Regions from separate parts of the Homo sapiens genome. Here region 1 is linked to region 2. The links are contacts of gene promoters, found by promoter capture Hi-C in human tissues and cell types (Jung and others, 2019). All regions are on one chromosome and are shown on one strand. Each heading gives the region's core, a stretch centred on a gene start or on the middle of the fragment in contact. The rest is flanking DNA. Distances are from core to core; before and after follow the strand shown. Region 1 has its middle 19 kb from the start of KRTAP5-7. Region 2 holds the start of KRTAP5-10 (keratin associated protein 5-10).

Evidence for each region. Contacts are between HindIII fragments. The study calls those that stand out against the background at their distance.
Region 1: a contact is called between a fragment that was not itself captured here and the fragment with the promoter of KRTAP5-10 in region 2, in 2 of the 25 tissues and cell types used here (H1 embryonic stem cells and mesendoderm cells).

The regions. Positions count from the first base shown.
Region 1 is chr11:71,504,625-71,512,501 of GRCh38, forward strand. It overlaps the pseudogene S100A11P3. Among named protein-coding and RNA genes, the nearest start is that of KRTAP5-7, 19 kb to the right of the region's middle. RefSeq lists an enhancer at 747-1,337. The HindIII fragment of the contact is 5,651 bases long and covers 265-5,915 here.
Region 2 is chr11:71,561,044-71,568,705 of GRCh38, forward strand. It overlaps KRTAP5-10 (keratin associated protein 5-10), which reads left to right and starts at 4,520. Exons shown (of 1, transcript NM_001012710.2): 1 at 4,520-5,692. The coding sequence starts at 4,545. The coding sequence ends at 5,153. It also overlaps the pseudogene KRTAP5-13P. RefSeq lists an enhancer at 4,907-5,722. The HindIII fragment of the contact is 12,390 bases long and covers 849-7,662 here.

The DNA of each region.
Region 1 (7,877 bases), core at 1,840-4,339, 58 kb before region 2:
CTGTTCTCCTCGTGGGTGCCTTTGCTCATTCTCATCCTCCTGTTCTCATCCAGTCTGCCCAGTCTGACCGGCTCCCAGCAGCATCCGCCCAAAAGTTTCTCCCATGACAGCAGGAAGCAGCCTCAGACAATACATGATGGACAGGCCTGGCTGTGTTCCAATAGAACCCCGAGTCAGTCAGCCCGAGCCTCCCTCTCAGCTGGATACTGTTAATGACAGGGGTACACATTCCCCTCCCCTTTCCAATGTTTTAAAACTCTAGGACAGTGATTCTCAAACACTTTGGTCTCAAAACCCCTAAGAGCATTTGCTTATGTGGCTTTTATCTGTTGATAGTTGCTACCTGAGAAATTAAAACTGAGAAATCTAAAAATAGATTTATTTTAGGAAGTCACTAAAAATAATAAGCCCATTGCATGTTAACATGAAATAGCATATTTTTACAAAAAAATAAATTTTCTAAAAACAAAACATCTAAGTGAGAAGAGTGGCATTGTTGTACTTGTTTTGCAAATCTTTTCAGTGTCCGGTTTATGAGATGACAGCACTTTGGTTTGTTGCCAACCATTCACTTATAAAGAAACCCTTTTCCAATAATTAGCTGGGGCTGGTGCTAGAGCAATACCAGAAGTTCAGCGATGTCTGTAGATTTGTCCAAATGTATGTGAAGAGACTGTGTTTACTCAGTTTTTATGTTTGCAGTTAAATCTTCAATTTGATGAGTTATTTTATCATTGCAAAGTGGCAGTGTCAGGGTTTCCTTTATTGACTTATCCAGCAGGCATTCAGCTATATCAACTCTACATATGAAGTAAGGAGTTGAATTAAGCAGAGTAGTTAATAAAAAGCTTTTTTTTTTCATGTTTTAAAAATGTGACGTTGTCAGGCCTCTGAGCCCAAGCTAAGCCATCATGTCCTCTGTAACCTGCACGTACACATCCAGATGGCCGGTTCCTGCCTTAACTGATGACATTCCACCACAAAAGAAGTGAAAATGGCCTGTTCCTGCCTTAACTGATGACACTATCTTGTGAAATTCCTTCTCCTGGCTCATCCTGGCTCAAAAGCTCCCCTACTGAGCACCTTGTGACCTCCACTCCTGTCTGCCAGAGAACAACCCCCCTTTGACTGTAATTTTCCTTTACCTACCCAAATCTTATAAAACGGCCCCACCCCTATCTCCTTTCGCTGACTCTTTTCAGACTCAGCCCGCCTGCACCCAGGTGAAATAAACAGCCTTGTTGCTCACACAAAGCCTGTTTGGTGGTCTCTTCACACCGATGCGAGTGAAAACTGTTTTATTTCTACCCGCAGGCGGGGCCTGCCAGAGGAGGTAGGTGTGCTGGGCTCAGGGGACGTGTGGGCTGTGAGGAGGAGATGGTGACAGGAAGCTGGAAGGAAAGGGGGTGGCTTTGGAGGCCAGGCCGAAGGGGCCCTCAGGTCTGCTTGTAGGGTGGGATAGCCTTGAGGAGGGAGTCATGGCAATGCACAGCCAGGCTGCCAATTTTGAATTAAGAAATTCTTGGAAATCTAGCTGCCTGTTACTGTTGACATCCAGTCTTTTCGTCATGCAGTCAAGGACACTGCGGTCCTTCTGCTTCTTTGTGACGGCAGCCTCTTCTGTGTTCATGAAGCTTAGGAACTCCGTCTTGGAGAGAGCAGTTGTAACCATCCTCTCCAGGATCCTTCTGGAAAACAGCAATCAGGGACTCAATGCACCACTCAGTCTCTGCAGGGCTGGAGATTTTTGCCAGGTTGTAGCTGAGTGAGGCATGGGAGGCTGTACTTGGGAGTGGTGTGGAGACCTCTGGTAAAAAGCTTTTGAAAAGGATGATTCTATTCCATTAGGATTGGCTTATATGAGGGGAAAAATAGGATTGTATATAGTTAAAGAAAAAACAATTCATTGGCCCATGTCAGATCTAACAAATCAAAACACATGGAAGCTGTGGCGTCCTAATCAGGGAAAAGGAGCCAGGGTGGCAGGACCAAGGGAAAGCAAAAAGAGAAAGCAGATAAGCTACAAGTCTGCATTTCTTCACAGTCCAGCACACACAGCCCTCCTGTGCATATAGCTCACAATCTTCCCATGCCCAGGTATCACCAGACCCTCAGCTGATAGAAAAATGCAAGTTAGCTCACTGCAACCTTGGCATTGTAGGTATTGTATGCAGCCCTCTTCAGCACATGGCCCAGGAACCATCCTGTAAAATCCCCTGCAAGCCTTTGTCTCCTTGCAGTCAGCTCCTCTTCTCCTGGCCTGCCCATTGCCTTCTTGCAATGTACTTCCTTCCTTTCTTTAATAAATCTGCCTTTTTTTAAAACCTACAAGTTTCTTGGTAAACTCTTTTACCCCTGTGACACCAGCCTCAGATAGTCGCCATCACCCACCATAGAAGCTACTCCTGGAGAGCTGATTATTTTTAATTTGCAGATAATTTATTCGTGTATTTTTCAAATACGTATTGCGACTCCTCTTCTGGTTCTGATGGAACAGCTCATATTTGAGCTACAGAATCACTGAGAACAAGTAGGAAAGCCAGAAAAAATTAACACAAAACAGCAGTTGAAAGCACTAGAGAGAAACCCAGGTGTCCAGGACAGGAGGTGCCTGGATCCTGGTGAGAAGGGAAATGAATGCATCAGGTGCCAGCGCTCCACTCTCCTCCCGTGGGGCCTCTGCCCATTCGTTAGCGACAGAGAGAACAAGAGCACAAGCAGAAAGCAGCTGAGGCATTGGCAGTTCCTTCCGAAAATCAGACTTTAGGGTGACAAAGGCAGCCAGAGCTTGCAGGGCAAAGCTTCCAGGGAAAAGAAGAGCTCAGAGAAGTGAGTCCAGTGTGCAGCAGCTCCTCTTCCCTTGAAGATTATGAAACTGCCTGGGGAAAGAGGACAAGGAGCTAAGCAAAAAGCATCCATGAAGAGCCTTTAAAGCAAAACAGAGATTATGGAGGTTTTGTAGCTCTGGAAAATAAATATTTAATTTTAGGATTAATAAGAAAGGGCTTGGTAAAAACTTAAGGCTTTCTATTGAAACCCCTCAAGACTATATACTGGGAGAAGTACAGGCCAGAAATAGAGACTCCTTCACAAAGAATAAAGCCTGGCCTCTTATCTTACTGCCTCACTGGATCAATGTGATCTGCTGCTTGTCTAACTGTTTCGCAGAAGGAAAACAAATGGTCTCTGCAAGAAAGTAACATCACTCAAAACCTTTCTCAGTTTTTTATACTCTTTATCTGGTATTCAATAAAAGATCACTAGGAACTCTATAAAAATATACTTAAAATGTAATATAAATCATAATACATACAAAGCTATAAAAATATATTCAAAATATCAAACCCAACATAAGCAGAAGAAGAAAAAAATCCAGATAAGAACAGAAATCAGTGAAATTAGAGACAAAAAATAGAGAAAATAAATGAGACAAAAATCTAGTTCTTTAAAAAAAATCAGTAAAATTAACAAACCTCTTGCTAGACCAACAAAGAAAAAAAAGAGAGGATACAAGGATACAAACTATAAGCTTCAGGAATGGATACCAAGTTTGGGGATATCACTACAGACCCCACAGACATGAACCGGATAATGAGCAAACGGTGCAAGCAACTCTACACATAGAAATTCAACAGCTTATGTGAAGCAGACCAACTCCTCAAAAAGCACAAACTACCAACATTCAGCCAGGACAAAATAGATAATTTGGATAGCTCTATAATTATTAGGGGAATTGAATGTGTAGTTTTAAAATGCCAAAAGAAAGTTGGAATTTTAAATTTTCAGATGCAGAGAATTACCAAATTTTTAAAGACTGAACACCAATTCTACATAATCTCTGGAAAATAGTGGAGAAGAGAACCCTTCCAAATTCATTTTAAGGGGCCAGTATTACCCTGATAGCAAAACCAGACAACGACAATACAAAAAAAGAAATAACCAATGCCCCTCATGAACATAGACACAAAATCTTCAACAAAAGAAAGCAAATAGAATCCAGCAATATATTAAAGAATTACAAACCATGACCAAGTGGAGTTTATTCCAAGCATGTAAGACTAGCTCCACATTTGGAAGTAAATCAATGTGATCCACTGTGCTAACAGGCTGTAGAAGAAAACTCACACAATTGCATCAATTGGGACACAAAGAAAGCATTTGGAAATTTTTACCACCTGTTCATAATTTTTAAAAAACTCAGCAAACTAGGATTAGAGTGTCACTTCATCATCTACAAAAAACCTATAGCCAATTTTAGGCTTAATGGTGATAACTGAATGTTTTCCCCTAACATTTGGAGCAATTACAAGTGTCCACTCTCACCACTCTTCAACATAATGAAGTTCTAGCCAGGGCAATAAGGCAAGAGAACTAGAAGATATACAGATGAGAAATGAAGAAATATTTGCACACACCATAGTAGTCTATGTATAAAATCTCAAGGAATCTACAACAAAAACCCAAGAACTAATAACAGTGAGTTCAGCAAGGTCTGAGGATTTAGATCGACACACAAACATCAATCATTTCTCAACCTTACATCTGATTAGGTGTGAATATCAAAAATATATAAGGAATTCAACCAACTTAACAGCAAGAAAACAATTCAATTAAAAATGAGCAAAGGATCTGAACAGTTCTCAAATGAAGAGATATGAATAGCCAACAGATATATGAAAAATGCTCAACATCTCTAAGAATCAGGAAAATGCAAATTAAAGCCACAATGAGATATAACCTCACACCTGTTGGAATCACTGTTATCAAAAAGACAAAAGATAACAAGTGTTGATGAAGATGTAGATAAAAAGGGAACACTTGTACACTGTTAATGGGAATGTAAATTAGTACAGCTGTTAAAAAAATAGTATGGGGGTTCCTCAAAAACTAAAAATAGAATTACCATATTATCTGGCAATTCCACTTCTGGGTATATATCCAAAGGAACTGACATTGATTTGCTGAAGAGATATATTCACTCCCACATTTATTTCAGCATTATTCACAATAGCGAAGATATGGAAGCAAACTAACTGTCTATCAATGGATGAATGGGTAGAGAAAATGTGTATATACACAATGGAATACTATACAGCCTTTAAAAGGAAGGAATTTTTGTCATTCATGACAATGTGGATATAACTAGTGGGGCATTATGCTAAGTGAAAGAAGACAGGCACAGGAAGACAAATATTGTATGACCTCACTTATATCTGGAATCTTAAAAAGCTGGTCTCATAGAAAAAGTATAAAGGTGGTTACCAGGGGCTATGGGTAGGTGGGGAGGAGCAGGGATGGGGCCAGCAGGAGATGTTGACAGAAGGGCATGAAGTTTCAGTTAGACTGGAGGAATACGTTTTAGTGACCTATTGTACTTCATGGTAACCATGGTTTGTTCTCCTTGGGAAGAGTGGGGACGGGTCCCTGAAGCACCAAGTCACTGAAACTTCAATTTATTGTAAGGACAAATTCAAAAGTTGGAAATCAGAGATGAACCAATGTGGATCTTCCAGTGTTGACTCAATATGGGGCAAACATTTTCCCAAGAAAGAGATAGAGGGGAGAAAGCCAGAGTGGAAGGATTACCCCGAGGGCTCTAGGCACAGGGGTGTCCTGGGGATTGTGAGAATTAAAATGTAAACTCCTCACCTAGGTGACAACGGCACGTGGGTGCGAAATTTCAGGCATGATTTTTTTTCCCATCCAGCTCCCAGACTGAGAGAGACTCATTTTAATGCCCTCTGCTGTTACCAACATACGGAACCTCTCGAGGCAACTCTTTCATGGAGTGGGAAGCCGTTCGATGTCTCAGCTTTATGCTGAGATTCAATTGATTTAGTCTTCACCATGAAGTTCTTAAATCCAAGGCCCCGAAGTTCCTAGAACTACCAGATCCCTCAGAGTATTCACCCTGGCTTCATGCTTCCTAATCTCGTGGAATTTCTCTAATGCTACAGGAAACACAGCCATGCACTTAAACAGATGTCTGTTTTTACCAAGAATTTTCAATCATAGCCAGAAACATACCGGGTTCACTGTTTTTCCAGAAGTGGATGTCTACCTTAGAGTTTTCAGGAGGCTTCAAAACATGGCAACCTGAAGTCCCTAGCCTCCAGTAGAAAAATTCTTTCCTTACATTTATGACAGTTTTGCCTTATGTGTTGTGAGGAGCAGTCAAGTTCCGGAGACAGAAATCCGGAAGCACACACTGTCAGGGTCCCTGTTCCTTCCCCTAGGTCGTATCCATGAACCATCCCTTCACTGCTGCCTTGGGAGAGGGGAAGGTGTTCGGGCTGAGGATGAGATCAAACCAAAGTTTAACCACACCTCAGCATTCTATGACTTCACATCGCTGAGTCCATAAGAGAACCAGGACCCTCCAGACCCAGAAAATACTTGGGTGGATCCAAGATGGCCTGGTTCAGCCAAGATGGCTGAATAGGAACAGCTCCGGTCTACAGCTCCCAGCATGAGTGATGCAGAAGACAGGTGATTTCTGCATTTCCATCTGAGGCACCGGGTTCATCTCACTAGGGAGTGCCAGACAGTGGGTGTAGGACAGTGGGTGCAGCACACCGTGTGTGAGCCGAAGCAGGGCGAGGCATTGCCTCACTGGAGAAGTGCAAGGGGTCAGGGAGTTCCCTTTCCTAGTCAAAGAAAGGGGTGACAGATGGCACCTGGAAAATCAGGTCACTCCCACCCTAATACTGCGCTTTTCCAATGGGCTTAAAAAACGGCACACCAGGAGATTATATCCTGCACCTGGCTCGGAGGGTCCTACGCCCATGGAGTCTTGCTGATTGCTATTACAGCAGTCTGAGATCAAACTGCAAGGTGGCAGCAAGGCTGGGGGAGGGGCGCCTGCCATTGCCCAGGCTTGATTAGGTAAACAAAGCAGCTGGGAAGCTCAAACTGGGTGGAGCCCACCACAGCTCAAGGAGGCTTGCCTGCCTCTGTAGACTCCACCTCTGGGGGCAGGGCACAGACAAACAAAAAGACAGCAGTTACCTCTGCAGACTTAAATGTCCCTGTCTGACAGCTTTGAAGAGAGTAGTGGTTCTCCCAACATGCAGCTGGAGATCTGAGAATGGGCAGACTGCCTCCTCAAGTGGGTCCTTGACCCCTGAGCAGCCTAACTGGGAGGCACCCCCCATTAGGGGCAGACTGACACCTCACACAGCCGGGTACTCCTCTGAGACAAAACTTCCAGAGGAATGATCAGGCAGCAGCATTTGCGGTTCACCAAGATCTGCTGTTCTACAGCCACCGCTGCTGATACCCAGGCAAGCAGGGTCTGGAGTGGACCTCTAGCAAACTCCAACAGACCTGCAGCTGAGGGTCCTGTCTGTTAGAAGGAAAACTAACAAACAGAAAGGACATCCACACCAAAAACCCTTCTGTACATCACCATCATCAAAGACCAAAAGTAGACAAAACCACAAAGATGGGGAAAAAACAGAGCAGAAAAACTGGAAACTAAAAAGCAGAGCGCTTCTCCTCCTCCAAAGGAACACAGCTCCTCACCAGCAACAGAACAAAGTGGACAGAGAATGACTTTGATGAGCTGAGAGAAGAAGGCTTCAGACGATCAAACTACTCCGAGCTACAGGAGGAAATTCAAACCAATGGCAAAGAAGTTAAAAACTTTGAAAAAAAAATTAGACGAATGGATAACTAGAATAACCAATGCAGAGAAGTCCTAAAAGGAGCTGATGGAGCTGAAAGCCAAGGCTTGAGAACTACGTGAAGAATGCAGAAGCCTCAGGAGCTGATGTGATCAACTGGAAGAAAGGGTATCAGTGATGGAAGATGAAATTAATGAAATGAAGTGAGAAGGGAAGTTTAGAGAAAAAGGAATAAAAAGAAATGAACAAAGC
Region 2 (7,662 bases), core at 3,270-5,769:
GTTTTGTTTTGTGTTGTTTCATTTTTTATTTTTTATCAAAAGCCATTCTGACTGATATGAGATGGTATCTCATGGTGGTTTTGATTTACATTCCCCTAATAGTTAGTGATGTGGAGCATTTTTTCATATAGTTGTTGGCCATGTGCATGTCTTCTTTTGAGAAGTGTCTGTTCATATCCTTTACTCACTTCGTAATGAAGTTATTTGTTTTTTGCTTGTTGATTTAAGTTCCTTGTAGATTGCAGATATTAGACTTTTGTCAGATGCACAGTGTGTGAATATTTTCACCCATTTTGTAGGTTGAGTGTTGACTCCCTGATAGTTTCTCTTGCTGTGCAGAAGCTCTTCCGTTTAATTACGTCCCGCTTGTCAATTTTTGTTTTTGTAGCAATTGCTTGTGAGGATTTAGCCGTAATTCTTTTTTAACAAGGCTGATATCAAGAAGGTGATTTCCTAGGTCTTCTTCTAGGATTTTTATAGTTTGAGGTCTTACATTTCGGTCTTTAATCCATCTTGAATTAATGTTTGTATATGGTGATCTGGTTAGCGGCCCAGTTTTATTCTTCTGGATGTGGAACTCAGTAATAAAAAGACAAATAACCCAATTAAAAAGTGGGCAAAGAATCTTAATTAGACATTTTCTGAAGAAGATACCCAAATGACAACAAGCATATAAAAAGACTCTGAGCATCATGATTCAACAGGGAGATGCAAATTGAAATCACAATGAGATACCATTTCACAAACACTAGGATGAATATAATGTAAAAGGTCAGACATTAACAAGTATTGGGGCAGGGTGTGCTTGTACCTGTAATCCCAGTGACTCAGGAGGCTGGAAGGGAGGATCCCTTGGGGCCACGAGTTTGAGTCTAGTATGGGTATCATGGCAAGACCTTGTCTCTACAAAAAATTAAAAATTTAGCTGGGTGTGATGAGGCACAACTGTAGTCCCAGCTACTGGGGAGTTTGAGACAAGGATTGCTTGGGTCCAGGAGGTTGAGGCTGCAGTGAGCTATGATCATGACACTGCACTTCAGCTTTGTCAACACAGTAAAACCCTGTCTCTAAAAAATAAATAAATAAAAATAAAATAAAATAACAACTGTTGACAAGGATGCAGAAACACTGGAACCTCCATGCACTGCTGTGGGAATGTAAATTGCTCAGCCACTGTGGAAAACAGTCTGCAGTTCCTCAAAAACTTAAGCAGAGAGTTACCATAGGGCCCAGCAATTCTGCTCATAAGGATGTTCCCAAGGGAAATGAAAACACATTCCATGCAAAAACTGGCACACCCATGTTCACAGCAGCATTACTCACAACAGCCAAAAGGTGGAAACAGTCTAATGTCTGCCAACTGAGGAATGAATGGTGTATTCATACAAAGGAAGATTAGTGTAAATAATTTATCATAGTAATGAAGTTCTGTTTCAGGCTGCAACATGGATGAACCACAAAACATTACACTAAGTGAAAGAAGGAAATTATAAAAGACCACATATCATATAATTTCACAGGTATGAAATTTCAAGAATAGAAAAATAGAGAGAGACAAAAAGTAAATTAGTAGTAGCCTCTGGCTACTACTAATGTTACCCATTTATCAGACTCAGGTGAGACACTCACATATGTCACAGGAAGTGGGTATACCAGTTACAGACAGGCAGCAAGGGAGAACAGGAGCCTCGGATTCATTGGGAGCCCTCTAGCCTCAGCAAAGCTTCCCAGGTGAGCTGAGTCTTATCCATGTGTGCCCCACTCACACCACAGCTGAGGGATCCCAGAAAGCCGCCTGCCCTCGGTCTTATGTCCCAGGGCTACAGGATTCACTGCACTAAAGCACGAAAGAATATCCTGTTTCTAGGAACTGGGACAAAGCCCGACTCTTCTGGCCAGTCCCTCCCTAACTCAGGATGTTGCATTCCCAGCATATTCTACAGTTATTCTTTTTCTTTCTTTATTAATATTTTAATTGAAGCATGATCATTGTACATGTTTATGGGGACCAGTGAGATATCAACTTCTTTAGCTTGCACCTGTGAGTGAGATCATGCAGTTCATCTTTCTGTGCCTGGCTTATTTCATTTAGCATAATGTCCTCCAAGCTCACCTGTATTGTCACATAGGGCAGAATTTTGTTCTGCTCTAGGGTTAAATAGAATTCCATTGTGTGTATACACCATCTTTTCCTTTTCATTACTTTTCCATGTTTTCCATTCATCTGTTGACAAGCACTTAGGTGCTTTCATATCATGGCTATCGTGAGCAGTGCTGTGATAAACATGGGGTGCAGATATCTCTTCAACACACTGATTTCTTTTCCTTTGGATACACACCCCATAGTGGGATTGCTGGGTTAGCTCTATTTTTAGCTTTTTGAGGAATCTCCATACAGTTTTCCTTAGTGGTTGTACAACTTCCCACTAACAGCATACGAGTTCCCTTTCTTCACTTCCTCTGCAGGATTTATTTTTGCCTTTTTGATAATGGCCATTCTGTGGGATGAGAGGACACCTCATTGTGGTTTTGACTTGCGTGTCCCTGATGATGAATGATGCTGAGCATTCCTTCAAGCTCTTGTTGGTCATTTGTACGTCTTCTTTCAGAAATGTCGGTTCAGCTCCCTCTGCAGTCACGCCTGAGAACCACAAGTGAGACACGGGGAGAATTGCATTGGTCTGAAGCCGCCTGGAGAACCGTCCTGTGGGGTAGTGAGTGGGGGGTACTAAAGGGCATGAGGTTATGAAATTTTCTACAACTGATTATGGTGATAGGTACACGGCTCTGTGAATATACTAAAAGCATTGAATTGTATACCTTAAATGGGAGAATTGTGTGGTATATGAACGATATGTCAATAAAGCTGTTAACAAAACAAGAAGAGGTATCAGAGAGGTTGGGGATCAGTGAAGCCGTGGTTGTATCAATGCACCAAGAGTTCTGGTGGAATGAAAGCACTGGAGAAAGTGAGCTAGAAAGAGGAGGGTGGCTGGAAGCGGGTGCATGGGACACACCCCACTGGGGTGCCCTGTGAAGAACAAGGGCACAGATATCACCACAGGGGTGAGGGGTGGGGAAGGATCTTTTACTTGTGTAAATGATCCCCACAGGGGCACTGCTTAACTGAGCAGTGGGAAGGAGGACACCATCCTCCAGCCCCCAGAATGGTAGAGCAACTGACAGCTTGCATCTTGAGCATGGAGAAGCTGCAGGCACCCAACTCCAACCCATGAGAGCAGCTGCAGGGGGTGAACCCTGCAAAGTCACGAGGGTGGAGTTCCCCAAGGCCTTAGGAGTCCACCCCTCACTCCAGTGTACCCTGGATGTGGGACTGGGAGTCCAAGGACATTATTTTGGAGCTTTAAGATTTAATGGCTGCCCTGCTGGATTTCAGACATGCATGGGGTCCGTAGCCCCTTCCTTTGGGCTGACTTCTCCCTTTTGGAATGGGAATGTTTACCCAATGCTTCTACCCTCATTGCATCTTGTAAGTAAATAATGTATTTTGATTTTCACAGGTTCATAGGTAGAAGGAACTTGGACTTGGGACTTCAGACTTGATGTTGGAATGAGTCAAGACATTGAGAGGACTGTTGAGAAGAGATGATCCTATTTTGTGATGTAAGGACATGAGATTTGAGGGGTCAGGGGGATAATGACATAGTTGGGCTGTCCCCTCCAAATCTCTTGTCGAAATGTAATCCCCAGTGTTGAAGGAGGGGCCTGCAAGGAGGTGTTTAGGTCATGGGGGCGGATCCCTCATAACTGGCTTAGCGCCATCTCCTTGGCGATGAGTGTGTTCACTCAGATCTGGTTGTTCGCAAGTGTGTGGCCCCTCCTCACCCCTTGCTCCCATTCTCACCATGTGGCGTGCCTACTCCTGCTTCGCCTTCCACCATGAGGAAAACCTCCCTGAGGGCCTCCCCAGAAGCTGAGCAGAGGTGGGTGCCATGCTTGTGCAGCCTGCAGAACCATGAGCCATTCTAACCTCTTTCCTTTATAAATTACCCAGCCTCAAGTATTTCTTTAGAGCAATGCAAAGAATGGTCTAACACACCCAGAAAGCTGAGACTGGTATGAGTAAAATATAAAGACCATGGATAACTTTTGAAATCTGAAAATGTAAAATTAATATTACTGGGGGAGTTAACACAGGAAAGATGAGAGCATGTGGGCAGAGGCTGTTGCCCATTGGTCACATGTGGTCAGCAGAGAGCAGGTGACCAGCACCCTGGAGCTTTGCAAGAAGTACCAGACAGCCTGGAGTTGAGGTTTTAATTATAGGGGCCAAAACAAACGGGGAAAAAGACAAATTTAGCATACAAAGAAAGTAGATGCTCAACTGAGCCAGGAGGAAGTCACTAGCAAAAAGGAAAAAAACAGAGCTCTGGAAAAATAATGTAAACAGTCACAAGAAAGGGACCCTGTGTCCTGCCTGACATCTGGACAGGTATATAAAGAGCCCGGGCTCAGGGAGCTCCACACCTGCACCTCCCTCTCACCTGCTCCTCTACCTGATCCACCCTCAATCTACCAGAATCATGGGCTGCTGTGGCTGCTCCGGAGGCTGTGGCTCCGGCTGTGGGGGTTGTGGCTCCGGCTGTGGGGGCTGTGGCTCCGGCTGTGGGGGCTATGGCTCTGGCTGTGGGGGCTGTGGCTCCAGCTGCTGTGTGCCCGTCTGCTGCTGCAAGCCCGTGTGCTGCTGTGTGCCAGCCTGTTCCTGCTCCAGCTGTGGCTCCTGTGGGGGCTCCAAGGGGGACTGTGGCTCTTGTGGGGGCTCCAAAGGGGGCTGTGGTTCCTGTGGGGGCTCCAAGGGGGGCTGTGGCTCCTGTGGGGGCTCCAAGGGGGGCTGTGGTTCTTGTGGGGGCTCCAAGGGGGGCTGTGGCTCCTGTGGGGGCTCCAAAGGTGGCTGTGGTTCCTGTGGGGGCTCCAAGGGGGGCTGTGGTTCTTGTGGCTGCTCCCAGTGCAATTGCTGTAAGCCCTGCTGCTGCTCCTCAGGCTGTGGATCCTGCTGCCAGTCCAGCTGCTGCAATCCCTGCTGCTGCCAGTCCAGCTGCTGTGTCCCCGTGTGCTGCCAGTCTAGCTGCTGCAAGCCCTGCTGCTGTCAGTCCAGCTGCTGTGTCCCCGTGTGCTGCCAGTGTAAGATCTGAGGCTCTGAACCCAGACCTTCAGGTTTCACCTGTTTGGTGAAAGCATTTGTTATGATTTCCCTGAATTAATTCATCCCACGCATCCTCCCTGAGGCACCTGCCCCTTCTCCAGCTCATCATCCATGCACGCACCTCCTTCCATGGCTCAGCTCTCCACTGGGCCCTGCCTTCAGCCTCCTCACTCCGGAAATGCATGTTTCCTTGATGCAGGAGGTGGCCTTGCCTGGACGCGGGCACCCAGCCAACTGCCATGGTGTTCCCTGCACTTGGGTGTGGACCATCTTCTTCTTCTCCCTCGGCTGACTGAGATGCAAGGTCTGACCCCACAAGGCCAGGCCAATGTTGCTCAGTGATCACTAAGAACCAGCTTCTCAACCACCATTGGGACCCTGGATCCTCCAGGGCCGCTCGCTGCCTGTTCTCCAGTGGCCACCTGTGACCAGGAAGGTCTCCTTCCTTCCTGTTGTCTCCATCTATTTAAAAACAATAACAAAGTAATGAATGAATTTCCTTACAATAAAGCCTCTCATGTCTGTAAATCAGCTGCATGCTTGGTGCAATTCTGTCCAACCCCTTTCCTGTGCAGTGACTGATTCTGCGTTCTGATCTGTCAGCTAAGCTGGGAAACGCCTGCCAGCAGGCCTGGTACATTCACAAAAAAACCTGCCATTCCCTTCTGTCCTCCTCTCAGCCTCAAATATCTTCAGTCTCTGCTCGCAGGAGAAGAGGGCAAAGCCCGGGAGGATTCAGCATTCAATGCCCGCCCTAGAGGCGCAGAGGGGCAGGCAGGCCCTGAGTCCTGACGACCAGCCAAGCAGGGCTTTGCACAAGACCCATGGCTTCCAGCTTCCCGCTCTCCTCTGGGGCCTCGGAAGGACCCCAGGCAGGGCAAGGTCGGAGGAGGGAGGAGTGAAGCACCGCTGAGCTCCAACGCACTCTGATTCAAACATTCAATTAGCCTTTTACAATTATGAGGTCAACGGCTTTCCATAACTAAAGGTAACCAGGAAGTTACAGAATGGCCCAAGGTGTCCTCGGAGCTCAGTCTCCCGGCAGGAAAGGAGAGTTCCTGGGAAGTGACACATTTGGGGACCCTGAGCCAAGTCCATCTGTTTCATGGTGACATGCCACCACGCTGAGCCTGTTCTCTGACCAGTGTCACAGGCAAGGCTTTAGAAATCACGCACTGGGGAGGAGGAGACAAGAGTGATCTGAGGACAATCTCCAGCCAAGCGAACCCGGAGGGAAAAGGTGGAGGGAAGACAGCACACAGGGAGTGCTGGTGAGAAATGAGCTCCCACAGAACACTCACAGATCTAAGCGACTGCTGATACTGCCGGGGAAGAGCAGAGTGGGAATTTCCAAGACAAATTTCTGAGAGAAAAGAGATGCAATGTAAGGAAAAATGAAATAATCTAGAAATAAAGGCTTAGATTAATTCAGCCACATTTAGGAAAGGGAATAAAAGTGTGTCAAAGGTGCATCTTGCTAGGGGACATGGCTATCGTTAGTTTCACGACGTTAAAAGGAAATGCTGCTTAAGACAGTTCACTCAAAAATCCAAACTGGGAAACTCCAGAAGGTGACAGCAGACATGAACGCAGAGTTCATTACATATGGGCCCTGTACATTCCCACAACCCACAGGACACCGAGCAACTAGGTAACAAAACCGAAAATGCATGCTGGAGACATAACAAAACCAGGTAAGCTGGGCATGGTGGCTCACACCTGTAGCCTCAGCTACGTGGAAGGCTGAGGTGGGAGGATGGCTTGAGCCTGGGAGTTTGAGGCTGCAGTGAGCTGTGATCGCACCCCTGGGATCCAGCCTCAGCAACCTAAAGTGAGATAGTGTCTCAAGAAAAAAAACAAGTGAACCTCAAAGTCCAAGAAGGTGGGGATAAATTTACAAGAGCCACAGTCCCCCAGGGTTTCAGTGTCTGTGTAGGAGAAAGCAAAGAAACATCTAACAGAGCCGAATACAGGGGAACCTCAAAAGAGCCAACAGGTGTGTGCTGGAAAAGCACAGCATGAATTTTGAATTCAGCTCCTGAAATGGGGAAGGTTTTCCTCTCTCCAGTGGAGAGTGGGTGCAAGGGCCCTCAGTAAGTCCCTATAGGCAATAAAAGAAAGCTAGGAAGCCTGCTGTGAAACAGATCACAGTGGTAGCGTACTGTTTCCAAAGGAGCTAATGAACAATGAAAGGAAATGATACCAGACATAAAAGAGGCTGCATGTGGTGGCTCATGCCTGTCATCCCTGCAATTTGGGAGGCCAAGGCAGGAGGATCACTTGAGGCCAAGAGATCAAATCCAGCCTGGACAATAAGGAGAGATCTTATCTCTACAAAAAAAAAAAATTTAAGTACCTGGGCATGGTGACACCCACTTGTAGTCTTGTTTACTCAGGAGGATTACTTGAGACCAGGAGGTGGAGGCTGCAGTGACCTGTGACTGCGCCACTGCACTTCATACTGGGCAACATTCTCAGTGCAGTTGCTGCAAACTCTG